Regions from separate parts of the Homo sapiens genome. Here all the other regions are linked to region 3. The links are contacts of gene promoters, found by promoter capture Hi-C in human tissues and cell types (Jung and others, 2019). All regions are on one chromosome and are shown on one strand. Each heading gives the region's core, a stretch centred on a gene start or on the middle of the fragment in contact. The rest is flanking DNA. Distances are from core to core; before and after follow the strand shown.

What was found. The method cuts DNA at HindIII sites, captures the fragments that hold promoters and counts their contacts. A contact is called where the count stands out against the background at its distance.
Region 1: a contact is called between a fragment that was not itself captured here and the fragment with the promoter of MAP7D2 in region 3, in 2 of the 25 tissues and cell types used here (IMR-90 fibroblasts and small bowel).
Region 2: a contact is called between a fragment that was not itself captured here and the fragment with the promoter of MAP7D2 in region 3, in 2 of the 25 tissues and cell types used here (bladder and lymphoblastoid cells).

The regions. Positions count from the first base shown.
Region 1 is chrX:20,196,090-20,200,350 of GRCh38, reverse strand. The region is part of intron 4 of RPS6KA3 (ribosomal protein S6 kinase A3); the gene reads left to right. Among named protein-coding and RNA genes, the nearest start is that of EIF1AX, 56 kb to the right of the region's middle. The HindIII fragment of the contact is 6,331 bases long and covers 1-4,261 here.
Region 2 is chrX:20,006,727-20,011,296 of GRCh38, reverse strand. MAP7D2 (MAP7 domain containing 2) reads left to right here. Exons shown (of 17, transcript NM_001168465.2): 16 at 245-520; 17 at 2,899-4,570. The coding sequence ends at 494. Among named protein-coding and RNA genes, the nearest start is that of MIR23C, 8.2 kb to the left of the region's middle. The HindIII fragment of the contact is 5,928 bases long and covers 1-4,570 here.
Region 3 is chrX:20,114,521-20,119,045 of GRCh38, reverse strand. MAP7D2 (MAP7 domain containing 2) reads left to right here and starts at 2,139. Exons shown (of 17, transcript NM_001168465.2): 1 at 2,139-2,296. The coding sequence starts at 2,167. The HindIII fragment of the contact is 9,946 bases long and covers 1-4,525 here.

The DNA.
Region 1 (4,261 bases), core at 1,422-3,921, 81 kb before region 3:
TTTCATCTCTTTAGCTGCTGCCATTTACATTTATATTCAACACTTTTATATTGCAATTGTTTGTTTTCATTTGGAGACATAATCTATTGCCTTTCTAACATGGAAGACTAAGATTCAGTTCTCTCATGCTGCCACCCACTCACAGTTTCCCTTTTCACATCTTCCCAATAATGTTTTCATTGTTACAGCTTTATAAGAATTGTTCCTAGCTGAACGAAATAGTATACTACAGTCACATTTCCTTCACTTCTTTTCTGTATTCAGTCTCTTTTCATAAATTCTGTGCCTACCTTTTTCTCAGTTTACTTTTTAGTTTTGATGGAACTCATCTTCTCATAGCTACCTCAGAATGAGTAAATGGATACTAAATTTTTTGTGACCCTCCATGTCTGGAAATGGCTTTATTCTACCGCCTGTCACTTAGTTTATAATTTGGCTGAGTATAAAATTCTAGGTCAGAAAGAATTTTCTACCAGATATTTGAAGGTATTGCTTCCATTGTCTTCTAGTTTCCTGTGTTACAGTGATGAAGTTAATTGCTGGTCTCACTCCCAGTCCTTTGTGTGTAAGCTGCTTTTCCTCTTTGGGAGTCTTTAGAATCTACTCTTTATTCCTGGTGTTCTGAAATTTATATAGTGGTATTCTTGAGTGTGGGTTTCTAAAACTATATCATATGATATATGAGGTGTGGTCTCTTTCAACCTAAAAACTCCTTTCTTCAGTCTTGGGAAAGTTTTTGTCATTTATTCTACATTTGTAAGTGCTGCTCTTTGGAATATGTTAGTTAAACCTCCTGAATTGTTCCTTAATTTTCTTTATTTTTCCATCTTTTATTTTCCATTTTTTCTATTTTCTGTGAAATTTCTTCAACCATCTTCCAACTCTTCTATTGACCTTTTTGTTTCTGCCATCGCTTTTCATTTCCTAGATTTTCTTGTTCTCTGATTATTTCATTAAAACATTTTTCAATTATGGAAAGTGTCAAACATTTAAGAAAGAGACAGAAGAATATAGTGAACCCCCTGTACCCTTCTCCCTGCTTCAACATTTATCAACTCATGGCCAACCTTTTTTCATCAGTGTTCTCCTTCTTCTTCTCTTGATATTTTGAATGAAATCCCAGACACTATAGAATTTCTTTCATAAATATTTTAGTATATATCTCTAAAAGATAGACTCCTGGCTGGGTACGGTGGCTCACGCCTGTAATCCCAGCACTTTGGGAGGCCGAGGCGGGTGGATCATGAGGTCAGGAGTTTGAGACCAGCCTGGCCAACATGGTGAAACCCCGTCTCTACTAAAAATACAAAAATTAGCTGGGTGTGGTGGCGGGCACCTGTAATCTCAGCTACTCAGGAGCCTGAGACAGGAGAATCGTTTGAACCCAGGAGGCGGAGGTTGCAGTGAGTCGAGATTACATCAGTGCACTCCAGCCTGGGCGACGGGGCAAGACTCCATCTCAAAAAAAAGATAGACTCCTAAAAGAGATAATTCAACTGTATTATCATACCTTAAAAATGAGCATAAAGATATCCAGTCTTTGTTCAAATTGCTAGTTGTCCCTACTATTAAAATTTATGTTTCTTTATGCAGTCTGTTTAAATTAGGATCCATACATATAAGGTCTCAACTTTGCAATTGGTTGATAATGTTTTTAAGTCTTTTCATCTATGAACTCTTTCTTCATTTCTTATCTTTTCCTTGTAGTTTATTTGTTGCGGATACTTGTTCCTTCCTCCACCCCACCACCCTTTTTAAACAAGAACAAGAAGCTTTAAAAAGGGTGAGGTGCCATATTATCTTTGCTCCCTCAGTGGACATAAATTACAAGATTGAGTTGTGTTGTGTGGTGTTTAAGTTATCTTCTGTTCCTCACATTGTCTCTGTTTCCCTTTATTCCATTTTTCTGTTTATTTTGATGTTTTTCATGTTTAGAGCCTTTCTCCAAATGCCTGGGGGTCTTTTGCTATCTTTTCTTTAAGAGTCGGGTGCTAGAAAGCTGATTGGAAAGATTTCAATGACAAGAATTTGCTTATTTTTCATTGGCTTCTTTTCCTTAGGCTTAGATTTTTAGCTTTCTCTGGTCTGCTTTGTTAGTTACCACTTGCACATCTTCTACTATTGCTTCCTGTCCTTGTGAGTTTATGCAGTTTTTCCATTATTGTCATTTCCATGGGGTTTTGGAAGAATGTAGAGAGTAAAATATCCATGTTTAACCAGAAGTCTCTTCCCATTTTAAAGTTCCTGTTAATACGATAAATGGGGTCAAATACAAGTCAATAACATTAGATAAAGTTAATGGGGACTTCTGTCCTATTAAAGTGGTCTGTTTGTCTAAAAGGTTCTGTAAACTGCTTAAAAAGGTTTCTTAATGCATAGTCCTAGGAACATAAACAACATTTCTTCATTCTCAGGTTCAGTCAAGTAGGGCTTAAATCTAATAACTACTCTAGAAGAAAAAATATTTCAGAGGAATCTAGTTGCTTTGCCAGCATGAGTCAGTATTAACCAATTCTATGTTGGGATTAGAAGTTGGCCTATATAAAACATGCCTTCTTCTGAATTAGTATATACTAATTAAAATTCCTCATGGTAGGATGATTTAGAATTGTCACTAGGTCTTTACATAAGCAAAAGAAACGAGATTAGAATTATGACACAGGCCTACCTCAGACAAAATGAAGGAATTCTTTAGAGAAGGACTCTCACTGCTCATTTTCAGTTAAACAAGGTCTCATCAATGTTACATATAAGGAAATGTTGAAGAGAAAACTGTCTCACAAAAAAATCATCTTGGTTCTAATCCTTCATTTTATAGAGGAGGAAACAGGAAATCCCTGAGCAATGAAATGATTTGACCAAGGTAGTTATGAGTTCATCTAGTTATTAGTATAGCCACTAAACTGTAGTTCTTGACTCCCAAATAATTGTTCTTTTCATTGTGGTAAAATAAGACAAGAGGGATATACAGTGCATTTATTAGTGGATATTTTTGATGCTTACTGAGCAGACGAGGTATTTTTAAGTGATAAGCCTTGTATACTTATTGAAAGAGGTAGGACTTTGGAATCCACCTTTAAGGTGATAGGAACTAATCCAAAATTGTATGGTAATAATGAGAAAAGGACAGATTTAGGCTAGACTAGAATAGAAATATCAGCAGGTATTGGTGATGAACTTCACTCACATAAAAAGTACAAAGGGCATATCAGGCTGGGCGTGGTGGCCCGTGCCTGTAATCCCAGCACTTGGGGAGGCCAAGGCAGGCGGATCACCTGAGGTCAGGAGTTAGAGACCAGCCTGGCCAACATGGTGAAACCCCGTCTCTACCACAAATACAAAAATTAGCCAGGTATGGTAGCACAAGCCTGTAATCCCAGCTGCTCGGGAAGCTGAGGCAGAAGAATAACTTGAACCCTGGAGAGGGAGGTTGCAGCGAGCCGAGGTCACACCACTGCACTCCAGCCAGGGCGACAGCGATATCCTATCTCAAAAAAAAGGGGGCATATCAGATATAACAAGGAAAATACCAGAGTTGTAGCGATCGGGCAAGGTAATGAAATCAGAGATTGCTATTGAATTTGATATACTAACTGGACAGGTCAGTTAAAAGAGCTGCGTAGACATCAAGAGCAATTGATTCCTATTTCTGATTTGCCCATTTTCAGTCAGTGGTATGAAAATCTCCCAGTTGGGGATAGAAAACTGGTAGAATGGAAAAAATAGGGCATTTTTTAGCTGCTTTGTTTATTTTCCCCAGAGGTCTTATTTCTATATTTTAAATATCTGCAGTCACCCTAAACTGAAAATAAAACCAACTCAACTTTCTCCCTCCTCCAAAGATTGTCCTATTCTTTCCATTTTCATGTTTCATATAACCATTCAGAGTACTTAGAATGTATTATAATCATTTATTTACCTGTCTGTCCTTCCCACTAGATCATGAGCTTCTTGAAGATTATCTTATTTGTATGTATATCCCTAGTGCATTGCACATACACTTTGCTCAGGAAATATTTGGTTGCTGAAAAAGAGCTTTGCTCACAGGGTCAAATATAAATTCATCTTGGCATTCCAACTTCTCAAGAATCTGGATCCTCCCCATTTCGCCTTGGCGCAGTAGTAAATCTCATTTGGTTCCTTCCTGTTTGTCATTCATGCCTTCACATCTTTGCTTACACTGGGTACTCCATGCTTGGACTCTTGTTTTCTAGGGCCTATCCTTCCTACCCATCTAAATGCCACTCCAAAAGTCTTAAAG
Region 2 (4,570 bases), core at 1,003-3,502, 110 kb after region 3:
GCCATCACAGCCCTGCTCAATCTGCTTCCCTGTTCTCATACATGGGGCCTCGTGTCCACCATCTGTCCTCCTCAGATTTGAGCCCACTTGTATTTTTTACAGTGTGTTACACAAAAACTCTGACTCTAAATCCTTCTTCTTTAGAAGAGTAGTAAAACAAAATATTGCAAATAGAATTAATATATTGTGCCATGTTGTCTGTCTGTCTCTTTCTGCCTCTCTCCCTCTCGTTCATCTCTTCTAGTCCTGTTTCAAAAGAAGAGCTTATCTCTATCCCGGAATTTTCACCAGTGAGTGAAATGATTCCTGGGGTGTCTCTGGACCAAAATGGAACTGGTAATGCCCGAGCACTTCAAGATCTCTTAGATTTCACTGGTCCCCCGACATTCCCCAAGAGATCCAGTGAAAATCTCAGCCTGGACGACTGTAACAAAAACCTTATCGAAGGATTTAACAGTCCTGGCCAAGAAACTCCTCTCAACACCTTCTGTTGACAAATACAGCATCCCTTTAATAAAAGGTACAGTCTTTTGATTATATTCTAACTTCATAACCCTTTAACTGGGGTTTGTGAAGATAGGATGTATATCACTCAGCCTCTTGGATGGTCAAATTTTATTTGAAAAACGCAAACATGAATATATTATGGTATACTACAACACACACAAGAATTGAGACAGATTTCAATTAATTCATCTGCGAGCCTTCAGCGCCGAGCCGCCTTGTCCTAACCCTGCTATTTAGGGTGTGTAGATGGGAAAGTTGAGAACACTGGCTAAAGGTTTGACTACCAGTCCAGCCTGAGTAGCTTTTTTAGGGGGCAAGGAAAGAATACTCTAGTAGTGTTGCAAGGTGATATGAATAAGATGAATTTCCCCACCTCTAGTTTTGCTCAGTGACATCCCACATTCTATCTAGAATCATTCATATACAGGGCCACAGGATTTGCTATTCTCTTGACCCATTCTGGATTCTTCCAAAGCAGACAGCTATTCTTGGATCATACCTGAGGGAGAGAGAACTGCAGTTTTTGTGTCTTGAAGGTTTTTTCCCCACCTTTGGCCTTTTTTTATTTTTGCCAAAGTGCTTCCAGAAGCTATTCTCATTTGAGCAAGAATGTCTATGAGTTATATACACTCTGTAGTAAGGTATACTTAGTTACATATACCTCACATTTTATTTACTTCAGTTTGGGGCTTGTTTTTGAATAAGGAAAACATAATTAGAGTCTGTCACCAAATCCTTTAATAATTTAATAATTCCAATTGCTCCTCCCACTTCAGATTCTGTTTTTGTTTTCAAGAGAAGTGATCTCACTCTGTTGTCCAGGCTGGTGTGCAGTGGCGCAATCACAGCTCACTGAGACTTCAAACTCCTGGGCTCAGGAGATCCCCTTGCCTCAGCCTCCTGAGTAGTTGGATCATAGGCACATGCCACCAGGCCCAGCTAATTTTTTTTAGTTTTTGTAGAGGTTGGGTCTTGCTATGTTGCCCGGCTGGTCTTGAACCCCTGGCCTCAAGTGATCCTCTCTCCTTGGCCTCCCAAGTACTTACTGGGATTACAGCCATGAGCTACCATGCCTTGCATCCATTTATCCATTTTAGATTCTTTTTTTTTTTTTTTTTTTTTTTTTGAGATGGAATCTCACTCTGTCACCCAGGCTGGAGTGCAGTGGCATGATCTCCACTCACAGCCACTTCTACCTCCCAGGTTCAAGCCATTCTCCTGCCTCAGCCTCCCGAGTAGCTGGGACTACAGGTGCACGCCGCCATGCCTGGCTAATTTTTTGTATTTTAGTAGAGACAGGGTTTCACTGTGTTGCCCAAGCTGGTCTCGAACTCCTGAGCTCAGGTAATCTGCCTGCCTTGGCTTCCCAAAGTGCTAGGATTACAGGCGTGAGCCACCGCGCCCGGCCATTTTAGATTCTTAAAAGCATTTTTATATTCTCGGCATTTTCTCAGTCACTTTATTTTTTATACTTCACTCCCATAACAAATTCACTGGCCAAAATAACAGTCCAGTGTTTTTATTTTTCAAATGAGGAAACAGGTGGGAGAGGCTACAGAGCTGAGGTCACTGTGTTTTTTGTATACTTGTTTCTACCTGACCTCAGCTCTTGCCTATAAGACAAGTTTGAGAGCCCATTTCTCTTGGTTCTTGGTGTGTGGTGGGTCACTTTTAGAGTAAACTGTATCACTGGTTTGGAAAAGCAGCTGCCTTCTTGGACACTTAAAACACTAAATCACCTGAGCATTCTATTTCCCTGACAGTTACGTGGCTTAATATTTATTAAGAGGTTTTTTGTGTTTTTAACATACTTTGACTTTAAAATTAGTTTCCCTTCAGTTCACTTACCTCACTATACAGTAAGGAACAGAGAATCCACAAAATTTATTAGAGTATTCATAGGTCCTCAAATTTATTTCTTACATCTCTAAAAGAAATGCAAAACCCCTGTCCAAAAAGAAAAATCTCAAATTATTTTATTCACACTGCTTGTATATTTTTAATTATGATTGGGTCTAGTTCTCAAATTCTTCTCTACCAAAAGTGGTACCACCCCCACCAGGAGACGTTTGGACATACGTTGATGGTTTTTGTTGCCAGAGTGGCTGGGGGCATTTGAAAGACAAAGCTTGAGACATTAAATATCTGCAGGTTTTAGAAAAGTTCCATACAAGGAAAATTTGACCCATCTAAAAGAATAGTCCTATGTAAAATACTCTATCACTTCTGTTGAGAAATACTGTATAAGCCCAGGAGGAAAATATAATTGCCAAGAAGGTAGAAAGTGCCACAGTGTGTTGTGATCGTTTTAGTGAGAGAATAGTGCTACAAACTGCACAATACTTGGTTTTCCCTTTGATCTCATCTGGTTTTGTTTCTGAATTGACACAGGTGTTTGGAGAACCCGTAAAGCTGCTGATAGTCAAATCCGAGCTACTAGCTGCTTGAAGAAGCTTCTGTCACCCTTACCGCTGGATCCCAAATTATTAGCTCGGAATGTAACTGTATTCCTAGGTAGTATGTCAAACACTGGCCACTCTTGGTAGAAACCTTGAAACTTTCACCTTGCTGGGCTTTAGCAAAGTTTCCTTTTACAGTTCTGTTTATGAGCTTCAGCTACTGATAAAGCACTTCCTGAACTTCTCTATTATCATAGTGACCCTCTGAATAACCTGAGTGACTGGCTCGGCAATTCGCTTTATAACCATTCTTATTCCCAAAGTTGGAGCACATAAACATTTAGATGTCTTTTCCTGTAAAATATTCTAGACATTTACCCAAACTCTAGTTCAACATATACTCAACTTGCACTGTATATCTCCCTGTCTTTTTTGAGACAGAGAAGAAATTCAGGAGGTTCCCCATCTCCAGAGTTTCTCTGTTGGAAAGCAGTATCAAGAAGCCTTTAAAAAATTGTTGTTAAGCTTTGCCACCTGCAGAAATGCATTGCCCCACATTATTCTTCTGGGGTTAAAGTAGTAAGTTTGGTTGAGGAAGGAAGTCAAAACAGTCAGTAATGATTTCTGTTCTCTTATGCATATTCGTGTATACATGGGCAACTGAATCTAGCAAGGACTCTTTCGTGTCACACCTTAAAATCTTCATGCTGTAGTCACTCCAGACCATGGAGTGGCTTTCCAGCTGAATGAATCCTATGTCTCGCGTGCAGGTGGTTGGTTTTCAATGTTCTTGCTAATTTTTTTTCTATTGGATCTTGGGAGTTTTCTTTGTTTGCTCCTGTGTTTGCCCAGCTTTAATAAAACCAGGCGCAAACAAAAACCATAGCATTCTGAAACAATAGGGGGCCCACATTGGACCCAGTATGTCACTTTAATGGACTTCAAGAAAAAATCTGAATGGGAAAAATGACACTAGAATGTATACTCCACACATTTTATGCCATATAATGGTGTGTTTTCTTAATTTTGTTTCTTGTGGCGAAATGTGGCTTTCAAATTAAAATGACCTTTTCTTCTTTGAAACTTTTTGTTTTGACTTGTATAATTAAGGGTTTGGAAAGATTCATAATTCTGAGAGAGGTTTGCAACCAGGAGATACAAAGAAGTCTCAGTAGTAATCTTGTTCATGTGCTTTTACAGCCAGCTACATTTAAGAATGTATTAGTTACAGAAATTATATGTCTGTGTATGTGTCTCTACTCAATAAAGTACATGCCTCCACATAATGCGGTGCTGTCCATCTCGGCAAATACTGGCCAAGTCCCTTTATGACAGGCACACAGAAACCATAGCATGGTCTGGCTTTCAGAAAATGCCTCTCATCTTTCCTGGAACCTTATTTTGCTAAATGTCTGTTTTCTTGTGATTTGTTGTACCTCACAGCACCATTGTGACCATGGTGATGCCTCATTTGCATGATATGTACCTTGTGTTTAATGTGAAATACATTTTCATTGAAGAGTCTGATGACTTGCTAGCGTTTTATTTTTTCTGTAAGCTCAATGTGCTGAAACCAAACCAGGCTTTTAAAAACCTGTGTAGAAGAAAACCAAAAAATCCTGTGTGGGTGTCCTTTCCCTGTCAAACTCATTAAAAATTCCTTT
Region 3 (4,525 bases), core at 890-3,389:
AGAGGAAAAACAAATAGAATGATAGCTTTTATGCAGTGTCATTTATATACAATTAAAATACATGCGTATCTTCAAAACAGTATTTCAAAATTGCAGCTGCAAAGATATCAGAGGAGGTGTTTATAATTAGGGAGAGGAATGGAAAGTAAAAGGACCCCAAAAATAGAATAAAAGTAGAGAGGGATGCTACACACACATGTCCATGAGCTCAAGAGTTGGATGAATTGAACTCACCAAAGGTCCCTAAGATAAGGGAGGAGAAAGTGACAGCTCCCACGCTCTTAATTTGGCTTAATCTCAATGTGTTCGAGTTTTCATTACAGCTCAGGGTACCAGCCCCCACCTGCTCACTTTCCTACTCATTTATGTTTAAACTTCCTGGCTTTCTCACCACACTTGAACCCTACTCCCGGCACACCTTTGGGCGTGTCAGGAACACGTTCATCACAAACATTTTTTGTGCCACAAAGGGACTTTCCCAGCTTTGGCCAAGAGTACAGGTGCCCATTCCTGAGAGTTTCAGCTTCACATTAAAAAAAAAAAAATGAGACATAATTAAGGGACCATAAAATTCACCCGCTTAAAATGTACAATTCAATAGTTTTTAGTATACTTAGTTGTGCACTCATCATAATCCTAGAATATTTTCATCCAAAAAAGAAAACCTGTACCCATTATTCAGCTTCATTTTTAATCGTGTATATCTCCCCCCAGGAGTGGTAATAAAACTTTCAGGCTGGTCACCTTCCAACGAGAAAAAACATGCAGCCTGGGGCTCCATGGGAACGGGTTATCACTTGGCAGGCCTGGGTAAACAAAAGGCTTGAGCCGGCCCTGCCAAGATGTCTTTTTCAATGTTTTTGAAAAGATAATAAATGTGCATGGCAGTGGTAAAAGTGCCTACTTAGGAGGCAACCCGTTTAGCAGTTTCTTGTGTGTCTTCTCGGAGAGATCCTCCTCAGAGGTTTTTTGTTTTATTTTGCTTTTGAGACAAGGTCTCTGTCGCCCAGGCTGGAGTGCAGTGGCGTGATCACTGCAGTCTCGACCTCCCGGGCTCAAGCGATCTTCCCGCCTCAGCCTCCCAAGTAGCTGGGACCACAGATGAGTCGCCATGCCCAGCTAATTTTTAAAATTTTTTTGTAGAGACGGGGGTCTCGAACTCCTTAGCTCAATCAATCCGCCCGCGTCAGCCTCCCGAAGTGTTGGGATTACAGGCGGGAGCCACCACACCCGGCATCGCGGAGGTTTCAGTCAGCATTATTTACGCCTCAGGAGAAGAGGAACCAAATTGGCTGCGGAGTAGGGTGTCGTTGAAAGGCCTAGGTCGGCCTACGGCGCGTGCCGCTGCCTCTTAGTTGAAGATCGACCCCAATAGCTTGCTGCTGTCCCTCTCTGGGTGACCGCACGCTGAGGGTGGGGCGTCACTAAACACTGATTACCCGTGCGCCTCGAAAACTGGAACCTAACTATGCATGGAGGGCGGGTCCTCTGGCGTCTGCACAGATGTCACTGGCCCAACTGGCACCCACCTGGGGGCCTAGCCAGAAATTGTTCCCAAGGCTGCATTGCTGAGTTTGCATGCAGACACCCAGTGAGTGTAAGCGTGTGCGTGCTGAGTGAGCACGTGTGTGCGCGTTATGTGCTCTGTGTTCACACATTGAGTGAGGATGTGTGTGCACGGTGTCTGAGAAACTGCACCCTACATCTACACACGCTTTGAGTGTGTATCTGCTACTGTGAGAAGATGCATTTACGCTGGGTGTGCACGTTGTGTGTGCATGTTGCATGTAAGCATCGTATGAAGAACTGTGTGCGTACGCACGCCTTCTGTGTGTGCACTGTGTACAGCAGCGTGTAAGGACGCGTGCACGCCCGTACGCGCTGTGTGAGGACTGTTGTGCACATTGCATGCACACGCTACAAGCGCGCGCCGCGTGAGAACCGGTGCGCCTATCGCACGTGCACGCCCTGCGTGCGCTGTGCGTGGAAGCGGTGCGCCTATCGCACGTGCACGCCTTGCGTGCGCTGTGCGTGGTAACCGGTGCGCTTATCGCACGTGCACGCCCTGCGCGCGTGCTGCGTGAGGACGCGTGCGCATGCGGACGCGCGCGGGTTCGGTGCGGCGCGGCGGGCTTGGCAGTGCGCCTGTGCGGCCGGCGCATCCCGATGGAGCGCGGCGGCGGCGGCTCCGGGACGGGATCCCGGCCTGAGGGGACTGCGCGGGGAACCTCTCTCCCAGGGAAGATCGCAGAACCGGGCGCGGTGCGGACCTCTCAGCCCAACTACCGGCCTCAAGGTATTATCCCCAGAGTGTGGCGGGCGCCCGAGGGCTTCGGGTTCCTGTGGGGGGGCGGGCCCGGCGGCCCAGGGCAAAGGTCCTCGAGCGTGGGGGGAAGGGGCACGGCGCAGAGCTGAGATAAACGCCCTTTCCCTGGCCCAGGATCGTCCGGACGTGCATCCAAGGGCCGCACCCCTCTCTGTGCGAGTGGCGGGGTTCTTTCTTGGGGCGACCTGGGTGAGTGGGTACACATGGGGGGTGGCTTAGGGTGGGCGGCAGGTGTGTTTGGGATGGAGGTGCCTGAGGGGGTGCTGCGGGTCCAGTCCCCGTCCTCGAGGAGCAGCCGGCATGGGGGTCGTTAGGATAAACCGAGCGGGGTTCTGGGGTTGCCCCGGCCTCCGCGCGCGCTCTCTCTGCGTTCTGGGAAACGCGCGCGAGCGCCGCTGCAGCCCGCGGCGAAGGTGGCCCAGCTTCGCGCCTCTTGGCGTTTCCAGGGGGCAAAATCGGCGTGTCACCCATTGGCAGAGGCAGATTCGCCCGGGCGGCCAGGCGTCTGCCCCGGACCGGGTGCTCCTCCCGCCCGGATGCGCTCCCTGTCTTGGGAACGCTGCTCAGGTGGCCGGGCCGCGGCCCTCAATCGAGGCAGCGGGGCAAACAAGGCTCTCAGCCCTCGAGGCTGCCGATGCTGGGAGCCATGGAGGGCTGGTCCCTGGCTGCCCAGAAGCCAGCGAGGCAGCGGAGGAGACTGTGAGGACATTTGGCAGGATTTTAGATAAGCAGGTCTGATGCTAACGTTCTGTAAAGTGGTTGCAGGTAGTGCGGGGGTGTAAGCAGCATGGAAACCGATTTCATGCTGTTTTTCCTGACAACAACTTTTTTATTTTTAGTTAATAAGGCAGGCTATTTTTAAAACATTTTTTATTGCAGTCTAATATGCATTTAAAAAACCACACAAAACTATAATTCGATGAATTATCACATAGTGAAGATGGGAGTATTTTATATACGATGGGCCAAGAAAAGGAAAGAAATCAAGAGAAATCTTCTTAAAACACGCTTTTTCACTGGGGTTGAGGGGGCGAGGTAGTATTTTCTGACTGGGCCTTCAGTTGCATCATTCTTAGGAGGAGGAGATAGCTTAAATCATTTCCAGTTTGTATTTTTCATTATGCTATTTTAAAGGCAGAATTCATTAACTGTCACAGGATAACGTTATAACTACCTTTGAAATGTGTGCTTTTGTTTTTATCCTTTTTGCTTGAAACACTCAAGCTGCATCTGCTAGGGAAGAACCTGGAAACTACCCACCAGAACGACCCTCCGTGGCAGAGGCGACCTTGTATAATAAAACACTGAAAAGGAGAGGTTGTTTCAGTTTGCATTTTTATTTGGTTGAGAGCTTAAATAATAGTTTGTTTCGATGTTCTGTTGTACTCATGAGAGGTGGGGAGGGGCGGTATGATTGGGTTTTCAGTGTATCTTGGATTTTATTTGAAGGAACTTAAGGGGTTTTTTTTTTTTTTTTTTTAATGGAAACAAAATTGGGGAAGGGGAGGAGGTACTTTTGCGGGGGAGATTCTTAATAAGTTCTGTTTGGAAACTATTGTAGAATCATTTAATGCACTCTTCTGATATTAAGATTAGCTTAAGGATATCTTCCTTCATTTGAAATTGGAAATATAGAAAAATATGTGTGAAGGTTTAAAATGTGAAATAAGCACCTATGTGCATTAAGGTTGGTATGGTAAAATTGGAATGTTTAATTTAGGTGCCAGGTGATACCACCATTTGTTGTTTGGGGGAGTTAGCAAGGCCAGGTACTTAAGTAAAGTCTCCTTAGAAAAATTATGATTTTGAGGTTTTATAATTATCTGTCCTGGATACTGATCATTCTTGGTTACCCAGGCCCTTAGCATTTGGGACCCATTCCTAATGAGACTTAACCTGCTTTTCTAGAGAGTCAACCATTGTTCCTAAGCTTGGGCTGGGTGCTGTCAAGGCTGCAAAATACAGAAAGACCTGAGATGTTTAGGCTGTCCAACAATTTTGTGTTGCACACTTAGGGGATATGAGTTGGCAAGTGGTTTTCCTGGGAGCTGTGTAAAAGACGGAAAGGAAATACCGCTGGTGGTTTCCTCTAGCAACAGGTTCTTCCGATATTGAAATCCTGTGCATGTTCCCATTACCCCCTAGTGATGCCTTCTTTCTTTCCTTTTAATTACCTCTGAATAGAAATTACCAGATCTA